Regions from separate parts of the Homo sapiens genome. Here regions 2 and 3 are each linked to region 1. The links are contacts of gene promoters, found by promoter capture Hi-C in human tissues and cell types (Jung and others, 2019). All regions are on one chromosome and are shown on one strand. Each heading gives the region's core, a stretch centred on a gene start or on the middle of the fragment in contact. The rest is flanking DNA. Distances are from core to core; before and after follow the strand shown.

What was found. Contacts are between HindIII fragments. The study calls those that stand out against the background at their distance.
Region 2: a contact is called between a fragment that was not itself captured here and the fragment with the promoter of KCNK17 in region 1, in 2 of the 25 tissues and cell types used here (small bowel and spleen).
Region 3: a fragment that was not itself captured here is called in contact with the fragment with the promoter of KCNK17 in region 1 in 1 of the 25 tissues and cell types used here (mesendoderm cells).

What each region holds. Positions count from the first base shown.
Region 1 is chr6:39,312,318-39,315,668 of GRCh38, forward strand. KCNK17 (potassium two pore domain channel subfamily K member 17) reads right to left here and starts at 2,102. Exons shown (of 5, transcript NM_031460.4): 1 at 1,767-2,102. The coding sequence starts at 2,003. LOC105375047 (a long non-coding RNA gene) reads left to right here and starts at 1,639. Exons shown (of 3, transcript XR_926774.3): 1 at 1,639-1,907. It also overlaps a transcript of KCNK16 not described here. The HindIII fragment of the contact is 22,753 bases long and covers 1-3,351 here.
Region 2 is chr6:39,279,496-39,282,836 of GRCh38, forward strand. No RefSeq gene overlaps it. Among named protein-coding and RNA genes, the nearest start is that of KCNK17, 33 kb to the right of the region's middle. The HindIII fragment of the contact is 5,777 bases long and covers 1-3,341 here.
Region 3 is chr6:39,252,759-39,255,970 of GRCh38, forward strand. No RefSeq gene overlaps it. Among named protein-coding and RNA genes, the nearest start is that of KCNK5, 25 kb to the left of the region's middle. The HindIII fragment of the contact is 9,224 bases long and covers 1-3,212 here.

The DNA of each region.
Region 1 (3,351 bases), core at 852-3,351:
TACCACATCCTTATTCCTGGAGTTGGCTGAAGCCACAGGAGTGTTGAGGAAGGGGGTGAGGTGGGGGTGGAGGGAGTTGAAGGGAAAGCCCAAAGAGATGACAGCCTGGCTGGGAATCTTGGGAAGCACCCACATCCACAGGTCCACACTGAGGCAGTATTTATGCTGGTTAACAGCTCCAGCTCCTGGCTATGTAGCCATGCATTCGTATGTAACCTCTCTGAGCCTGTTTCTTCACCTCTGAAACAGGATGATAAAAACAGTACCCACCTGTGAGGGTGAAACAGGATGATAAAAACAGTACCCACCTGTGAGGGAGGTGAGACAAATGAATACGGGTAAAGTACCAGCAACAGTGCTTGGCACACGATAAGTGCTGCACAGAGGCATTTACTGTTATTATAATCACCATCATAGCCATCTCCCTGGGCCCAGGCTGCTTGTAGTCGAAGTTCACCACCTTTGCAAGGGTAATGGCAGGCAGCCTCAGCACCAGGACCCAGCAGTCGGGCTGTATTTGCAGAAGTCCGCAGGTGGGGAGCTGGAGGAATCACTTTAGGTCCTTAGTAGAGATAGGCCTGGCCCTGGCTACCTCCTGACCTCACCGAATCGGCCTAGTCCGAGGGTTCAGAACACCACTTCCGCTCCGCGCTGGGTCCCTTCCCACCCTGGCACGGTTCCCTGCCACCTTCCGGGGATTGGCTTTGGACTGGAGACTCTGGACGGATAAGCCACCAGGACTGCAAGACGGGGATTCTGGGCTGGCGCGCAGCTGTCTGGACTCTGGGCTCTTGGACGAAGGGGTGGGGAACCAAGCCAGGACCCAGGACATCAATGCCTCCGCCAAATCGAGCAGCTGCCAGTCTGGCGTCGCTTCAGTCCTAAGATGCGCCACCCCTAGAACCCTCCCCGGCCTCCTCCGCCCTGCTAGGCCCCACCCTTGAGGAGCCTCTGCTCAGATTTACCTCTGAGTCCTCCCCTGAACCCTGCCTTCAGCCTTTCTGGGCAGCCGCGCGGCGGCGGCGCGCCCAGTCCTTGTGTCCGAAGACTCGGAGTAAAGCGGGTTCAGCCAGAGAGCGGCCCTGCGTCCGCCCTCCTCTCGAACCCGGGTCTGCGCACGTCGAGCCCCCTCTCTGCGTTGAGGGTGGCCCCGACCAGCACGCCTCGGGCCCAATCCACCCACCCTCCGGGACAAACGCGCCTTCCCCCAGGCTCCTACGGCCGCGCCCTCGCTCCTGCGCATCCTTAGACCCGGCGCCCCTGCCGTCCCAGCTCCCAGTTCGCAAACGTGCGCCCGGGTTCCCCCTCTGGAAGCGGCCAGGTGTGGCGTTTAGCTCTTTGCCACGGGTGCGGGTGCGACCAACCCCCAAGCAGGCTCAAACGCGCCCTTTCCCGGGTCAGGCCGGGCGGGGCCGGTTACGCGCGCGCCCCCTGCCGTAGTCGTCCTCGCCCCCAAATTTGGATGTGTCCCCAGGCATCTGCCTCCTCACCGGGCCAGCATGCCCTCTCGCCCCCAAGTAGGACTCAGCCCGGCTTCTCGCAGTCCTCTCGCTAGGGCGAGGGTCTTTTCCTCCGAGGTCCCCCAACCCTCTGGTCCCCGCGCAGGAACGCCCACCCCCGTTGTGCCCGCGTCTGCGTTCCCGACGTTTCCCTGAACAGGAAACACCTGACCAGGGCCTGAATAGGCCCCCTCGCCCTCGGCCCGTACACCCCGCGGCCCGCTACCCCATCCCGCCGCGCCCAGGCCGACGCCGCTCGCCCCTGACCCGGATCAGCGAGTCCAGCGCCGGGCGGTCCAGACACGTGAAGTTCTGCAACAGCTCCCACTTGTCGCGCTGGAAGCTGCGGCTGGAGTCCTGCGCCGCGCGGCCCTCCAGCGTCCAGAACACGCCGGTGCCCAGCGCCAGGTAAGCCAGGTAGGCGAGCAGCAGGAGCACGGTGCTGGGCACCGCGCAGCCCCGGACCCTGCCCTCGGGAGCCGCCCGGGCTCGCGGTCGGTACATAGCGGGAGAGGCGGGGAGCCGGCGCCGGGAGCGGTGGACTAGGACCCGGTGGGAGGGAAGGGCCAGGCGTCCAGCTCGTATCTCCTCTCGCAAACGCCTGCTGGTGCCCGGTTTCGCCGGGGAGGAGGAGTGTTGGGGAATGGGACAGCCTGGCCCCACCCAGCCCTGGGATCCAATCCCCGGGACAAAAAGAGGCTCTGAACTGTGGGCATCTGGCCCCGCCTCAAATGTGTGCGGGGTGCCCACCTGCTAGGCCTAGGCCAGGGAGAAGGAGGAAGCTGCTGGGTGACCGCAGGCGCTGAGGGAAGGGGCCCAGAGCCCCCTCACATTTCCTGAAATGAACAATGGGAGGGACTTCTGGAAACCGCACTCAGAGGTAGGAGATAGTAGAGACCAACTTTATTGTCTTGGGGCCCCTGCCTAAGTTCTTGGACTCGGGGGCTATCTCCAAGGACTTGCTGTCTGTCAATCTCAAGACCACCTTGGGTCTCCCACACCTCTGTCCTTTCCTTTGTACCCCAAAAGAGGGACCCCAGCTGATTGCCACTTGTCCATGAGCTTGGGAGGTAAGAGGAGCCTTAACCAAGAGGCTTGTCCACTCCTTGCTTCTGAGAAGGCCCCCGAAATCCCTCTACCTGGAGTGGAGGAAGCGTCTAGGCTGTGTGAAGAGTCCGTGGGTCCTCAGCTTCCCAGTCCTTTCTTGGATATGGGGAAGTCCTGGGGTGTGACTTGGACTCCTCTTGCTGCTGTAGAGCCTCTCCTGGGTCTCCTGCCTGGAGCCGCCTTGGCTCCACAGCCTTGCCTCAGACCTGTGCAGAGGAACCCAGCCACATAGGAGCCCACTTGCTGTTGGATGATGGGAGAGGCAAAGGCCAAAATTTCCAGGCCCCGGGATGGAGTGGTCTAAATCTCTCCTGGTCAGGGATGTTGCAGTCTGGCAGGGGAAAGGCCAGACCTGGAGAATGCATTCCTGAGAGAGGCCAGACGTTCATGGAGCTCACTTTCTGGAAGGATCCTGGGATCTGCTGGCTCTCTGGCTTCCCATGGGGTGTTTGGAAAGGCTCTTGAGAAGGCAGGAGCCCAGAGGGAGTGATGAAGTTAAGGGGGTGGCCTGTGAGGGTCAGGGGAGGCCATGTTCAGGAAAGTGGGTAGGACACCCAAGAGGTCCTAAGCTTTGTTCACAGACAGCCCTGGACTTCTAGGCAAGGGGAGCTGGCGAGCTTTGAGAGGCAGCTCGCCTGCCCCTCGGCTGAGAGCTTCCTGAGGGCAGAGATCCTCTTTTCACTAAGATTGTTCCAAAGTCTCTGCCCAGGTCTCCCCTCTCTTTGATGCTCCCTGCCAGCCATTC
Region 2 (3,341 bases), core at 415-2,914, 33 kb before region 1:
CCCAGGAGTTGCCTTGGCAGGAGAAGGGTATCCAGGCAGCTGTGCTCTCACCACTGGCTGGGGCTGGAATGTTCCGAGTGCTTGCATAAGAACCAGGATGGGGATCCAGGTAGCTCAGTGTTTGCAAAGCATAGCTTTCCCTGGGCCACAGAAGCTACCAGCCCTCATGGTGATGAAATGTGCCCACTGTGGGTGGAGCAGGTCAGCCACTGCCATGGCTGCCTTGCCCGCCTCGCCCCACTGGAGTAGCACAGAACAGTATGTCTTGCTCTGGGTTTCAGCCTGGCCCAAAGCCCAGGGTCCAGGTACAAGGGTGGAGGGTCAGGCAGAGGGAGTGAGGCAGCAGACCCCGGCATGAGCATTCGCTCTGCTGCTGGCAAGCAGGGTGGCCTTGGCCGGTCCTTCCCCTCAAAAGAGCTTGTTTTCAAGTGATTTCTAAGCCCCCTTTAGCTTGGAGAAGTTTCGTCCTCTCACACTCCTAGGGAAAGGCAGCCAGGTCAGTGTCCCGTAGCATTTCATGGCCCCCAATCTCTGGTTCTGCCAAGAAAACTAAAAGTTTGGGTTCTGGTTTTCCTTCTTCCTTCCTTCATTCAGGTTTTCCTAAGGGCTGAGCACATTCTGTTGCAGGAAGCACCTGTTCTTGAGGCTTCAGGGTCCAAGTGAGAAGAAAAGACAAAAGACCCCACATACCCCAAGTCAGTCAGGTGACAGCAAGTACCCAGAAGGGCTGAGACAGAGGGTGTGAGGACAGCTCTGAGGAGGACATCAGGGGCTGCCAGAGAGCGGGGTGTGGCACGCAGGAGGGAAGAGAGGGCGTTCCAGGTGGGAGCCTGCAAGAGCCCAAACCGGATGTGGTTGAGTCAGGAAGGGCAGGAGTCAGAGGCTTGGACAGCAAATCACTGGCCCTGAGATCACCCCAGGCTTTCACCACTGTGCATTGGCCCCTGCATGGATCTAGGGCCAGCCCTGCTGCAGGGGCTCCCTGGGGACTGGGCGTCCCCTGGCCCAGACCCACCCCATTGCCTCTGTCCGTACAGGAGCTGCCTGTGACCAGCTGAGAGCAGCAACCTCTGGGGACAAGGCTATGTGGCTGCCAAGGCTGTGGCAGTAGCTGACTCTCACTCATCACTCTCCCTTTCAGTTTTCTTTCCGGGTTCACTTCAGGAGCTGTGATTTTCCTACGGCTGAGTCACCCAGGGAAGGGCAATAATAAAGGGTGATTAACAGTGTTTCAGTTCCTAGGATTTCCCATCTCAGTTTATATGAATTTGGAGCAAAGCCACAGAAGTACAGGTGGTGAGGGAGGCAAGGGCCTTTGCAGGGACCTAAGGAGACCACTCCCCTCAGACTAGGGTTCCCTGAGGAGAGGGCTGCGTCTCCCCTCAGACTGGGGCTCCCTGAGGACGGGGCTGCGTCTCCCCTCAGACTAGGGTTCCCTGAGGAGAGGGCTGCGTCTCCCCTCAGACTGGGGCTCCCTGAGGACGGGGCTGCGTCTCCCCTCAGACTAGGGTTCCCTGAGGAGAGGGCTGCGTCTCCCCTCAGACTAGGGTTCCCTGAGGAGAGGGCTGCGTCTCCCCTCAGACTGGGGCTCCCTGAGGACGGGGCTGCGTCTCCCCTCAGACTAGGGCCCTGAGGACGGGGCTGTATCTTCGTTCTATCCCTTCTACTGGGGCTTCCTGAGGAGTGGGTACAGCTCTCTTTCTTCTGTACCAGGTCCACTGTAGCCATGGGCCATTGGGTACCTCTGCAGAGGTCCTATTGGGCCCACGGACTAGAGCAGAGCAGATGGCCTGGGTCCGCCTGGTAGGGTCTCTCCTCACACCAGGAAAAGATGACGACACAGAAAGTCCCTCATTTCTCCCCCGTGCTTGTGCTTGCTCTTCGTTCCTTTCTCCTTCTCTCAGTCAGACCACAAAGGGCTACAGCCCTTTCCTGCATCTCTCACTGCCCCTCCCACTACCTGTCCACTCCCACCCAGCCCTTTGGTCACTGTTCTGACCCAGAGCCACCCTGGTACTCATTGACCAGGGGGCAAAGGTGCCAGAACTGGGCACTGCCAGCAAAACCAGAGCCCAAGTCAACTGTGCAAGGAGGGGCTTCTCTCCTGTCTCCTCTCCACTGCTGGCTGACTAAAGTCCACCTGGACTCTCCTTGGCTGCAATCCCCAATGGGAGCTGCCGGCTAGAGAGAACTGACTTGCGCTGCCATGGCAGGATAGGTGACAGGAACGACCTGCTGGGAGCCTAGACCAGCTCCAGGAGAGGTCACCTTCCACCAGTGAAAGACACTACCAACACTTCCACCACCTCTCAGTGCTGTGGGTGACCGGGAGCTGCTCCTTGAGGTGACACCTGTGTGGCCTGGGGGCCCCTTCCACACACTGCTGTTCGTTCCCAGCAGCAGATCCTGTTGCAGAGCCATCCTCGGGACTGCGGGTGTTAACGAAGCCTGTGATCTTCCTCAGACTTTTCCACCAGAGAGGCACCTGAAGGAGCCACACCACATTCCCCTGAAGGCTTGTGTGTGGGCGTGGGCTTGGCTCAAAACAGCCAACCCAGAGCACCAGTGGGATCGCAAGTCTTCCGTTTATTGAATATCCACACAGGCATCTTACATTCTACTTCATCATACTGTTTAATGTGAAAATAATATTTTCCTCACATTCTTTGAGCCAAATTGCTGCTCTAGGAAGGTGGGGCACATTCATCCTGTGGCTTTCCTGCCCTGGGCACAATGGTGCTAGTGCTGGGTGCCCAGAGCAGGTGGCCCAGGGGCCCAGGTAACTTCAGATTTGGTCCCAATGCAGACGCATCTCCCCACTCAGGTGTGCAAGAAGCGTCTCTATCCTTCCTGGCCTCACCTTTCCTGGTGATTCCTGTGGAAGGCAGATTGGGTCACCTGTTCACCCAGGGGGTGCTCTCTGGCTGCAGGATGCCCTGCAGCTCCTCCTCCCCACTGCCCTCCAGCCTGCTAGGCCTCTACTCCCGCATCATTGGCTGAGAAGTCCCTTTGTCAGAGGCTACTGAGCTCTGCTCCTGGGGAGAGAACAGACGGGAATCCTGCTCACGGATGAAGGCCCTAGTGAAGCTGTGGACAGTTGGGAGTGCATGTCTCATCCCATTCCAGGAGGTCTTGTCCTGCCATGGCCCGCCTTTGCAGGCATGCAGTGGGCTGTGCTGGCTCCTGGCAGTGGCTGTGGCCTCCTGGCCAGAATCTGGGCAAACCCTGAGAAGGAGGTGCTGTGAGCACCTGGGGGAAGCTTCCCTTTCCCTCCTCCATACCCAATACATCAACAAGACCCAATATTTCTGCTTCTCAAATGCTTCTTGAATCCATTTCAC
Region 3 (3,212 bases), core at 263-2,762, 60 kb before region 1:
TGTAGAGATTGCAAATGGGAGTTCATTCATGATTTAGCTCTCTGTTTGCCTATTGTTGGTGTAAAGGAATGCTTGTGATTTTTGCACATTGATTTTGTATCCTGAGACTTTGCCGAAGTTGCTTATCAGTTCAAGAAGTTTTGGGGCTGAGATGATGGGTTTTTCTAAATATAAAATCTTGTTGTCTGCAAACTTTGTTGTCTTTCTTGCAAAATCTTGTTGTCTTCCTTGCAAAAGAGAGGAAGACAACTTGACTTCCTCGCTTCCTATTTGAATACGCTTTATTTCTTTCTCTTGCCTGATTGTCCTGGCCAGAACTTCCAATACTATGTTGAATAGCAGTGCTGAGAGAGAGCATCCTTGTTTTGTACCTGTTTTCAAAGGGAATGCTTCTAGCTTTTGCCCATTCAATATGATACTGGTTGTGGGTTTGCCATAAATAGTTCTTATTATTTTGAGGTATGTTCCATCAATACCTAGTTTATTGAGAGTTTTTAACATGAAGGGATATTGAATTTTATCAAAGGCCTTTTCTGTGTCCATTGAGATAATCATGTGGTTTTTGTCTTTAGCTCTATTTATGTGATAGATTACGTTTATTGATTTGCGTATGTTGAACCAGCCTTGCACCCTGATTCTGGAACATTTCACCACATCTACTTTATCATCCTCTCTTTTTATATACGCCCATTCATCTTTTTCTTTTCTTTTTTTTTTTTGTCTGAGGCAGTGCCTTACTCTATCACCCAGGCTGGAGTGCATTGGTGCAATTGTAGCTTACTGCAATCTTGAACTCCTGGGCTCAAGTGATATTCCAGCCTCAGCCTCCTGAGTAGCCGAGACTATAGGCATGTGCCACCATGACTGAATAATTTTTAAAATTCTTTGTGTGTGTGTATGGGGGTGGTTTTCACGATGTTGCCCAGGCTGGTCTTGAACCCCTGGCCTCAACAAATCTTCCTGCTTCCATTTCCCTATGGGCTGGAAGTACAGGCATGAGCCACTGCGCTTGGCCTTTCCATTCATCTTTTTCTGAATTTGAGATGCAGACATGATGCCCATCAATATAAGAATAATCACCTACCTAAATTCTTCATCAGCTCTTCAAATTAGGGAATTGACCTTGGCACAGGAAACCATTCAATCTACAGATCCTGTTCAAGTGTTGCACATTGTCCTAAGAATGTCCATTTTACGGGGGGTGGTGGGGGAGGGGAGAAGTCCAGGAGGGAATCCAGGACCATGCATTACATTTAGTTGTCATGTGTCACCCATCTTCTTCAATCTACAACAGTTTCTTCGTCTTTCCCTGCATTTTGTATCCTTAGCAGTCTTAAAAAGGTCAGGCCTTTTATTCCATTGGATGACCTTCAACTTGAGTTCCTTTGGTGTTTCCTCATGACCAGACGCAGGCCATACATGCAGTTTTGACAATAAATACCACAGAAATGTTTCTGGACCTTTGTCCCTTGGTCAAGTTGGTGTCTTCCAGGCTTCTCCACCAGAGTCCCCATCTCCCTTTTGTAATTAATAAGTATTTTGTGGAGAGATAATGTGAGATTATGCCAATATGCCAATCCTCTTCAAACCTCTGTGCACCAGCTTTGACATCTGTTGACAACTCCCATCTGAATCAAACACCAGTATGGTGGTTGCCAGTGGTGATTTTTCTATTTCTATAGTTCCTTCTACCATTTAGTAGTTGGCATTCTACTATAAGAAAAAACCTTCCTTTCTCTCCCAGTTGTTTGTTTGTTTATATCAGGATGGACTCATGGATTCCTATTTTACGTAGGTGGTTGAAATCTGTTAATATTATTGTTTATTTTGGTGGTCAAATTGTCCCAGAATGGGCCAAACCGACCCCCTTCAAGCTGGCCCCTTGTGTCCTTTGACTTGTCCCCATCATTCTTGGAGCGTTTTCTTACTTTCTGGCATGATAAAATGTTCCAGGCTCTTTTGCACTTTCCTTGCTTCAGCCCTGGAATAGGGAGCCCTGGTTCCTTTTTGTGAAGAGTGATGTTTAGAAACCAAGATCTGAGAGCTTGGTGTGCTTGTGGTTATTGGGGTGACATTACTTCTAGGCCCTCTCAAAGATTAGAGCTAGGATACACACACATACACACATACATACACAACCAATTTCCATCATTTGCTAATTCAGTGGCAACACGAATTGGCAAATACTGACACATTGCTCCTAGGACAAGTACAGGGTTAGGTTCCATGAGCCTCTCTGGTCACAACATTTTCATCAAACAACCAATACAGAACCTCATTTTATGTGTGTTTCGGTTTGAAGACAGCTCATTTAATATACATGGTTGATTCATGAACATCGAACTCATGGCCACCAGCACTATAACTTCTACTGGAACAAAGCTTATCTACCATGTATATTCTTTCACCACGAACACATCACAGCCTTCTTGTGCTTAGGCAATCTAAACAGTTCTGCAGCAGTGTAGTTGAGGTCTATTTTCAACAGCAAAAGCACCAAGGAAAAGTACAAAAATGAAAAAATATGACACCAAATAGACCACAAAAAGGACACTTGTTTACAGTAAAGCACTGAAATGAGAAGGCAGAGTGTCGCCTTGTTCAACCTCAGCTGGGGCCACATGTACACCAGGCAACTCATATTTTCCCCTGCTTTGTACATGTGCAAGAATGACTGCAAAAGTGCCATGGGTATTGATTTTGCAGTTACAGATAAATTTTAGCAACAGGGCAAATTTATATATACAGAATCCCTGAATAATGAAGATCAATTGGCCGGGCACAGTGGCTCATGCCTGTAATCTCAGAACTTTGGGAGGCTGAAGCGGGCAGATCACCTGAGGTCAGGAGTTTGAGACCAGCCTGGCCAACACGGTGAAACCCTGTCTCTACTAAAAATACAAAAACTAGCTGGGCGTGGTAGTGCATGCCTGTAATCCCAGCTACTCGGGAAGCTGAGGCAGAAGAATCACTTGAACTTGGGAGGTGGAGGTTGCAGTGAGCTGAGATCATGCCACGGCACTTCAGTCTGGGCAGCAGAGTGAGACTCTGTCTTAAAAAAAAAAAGATTAACTATACATAGATACACATACATTATACATACACAACACACAGATATCTATAGCTATTTTAAAGTCTAAGTATAATTTAAAATCATGAGTTCGGCTGGGCGCAGTGGCTCAAGCCTGTAATCCCAGCACTTTGGGAGGCCG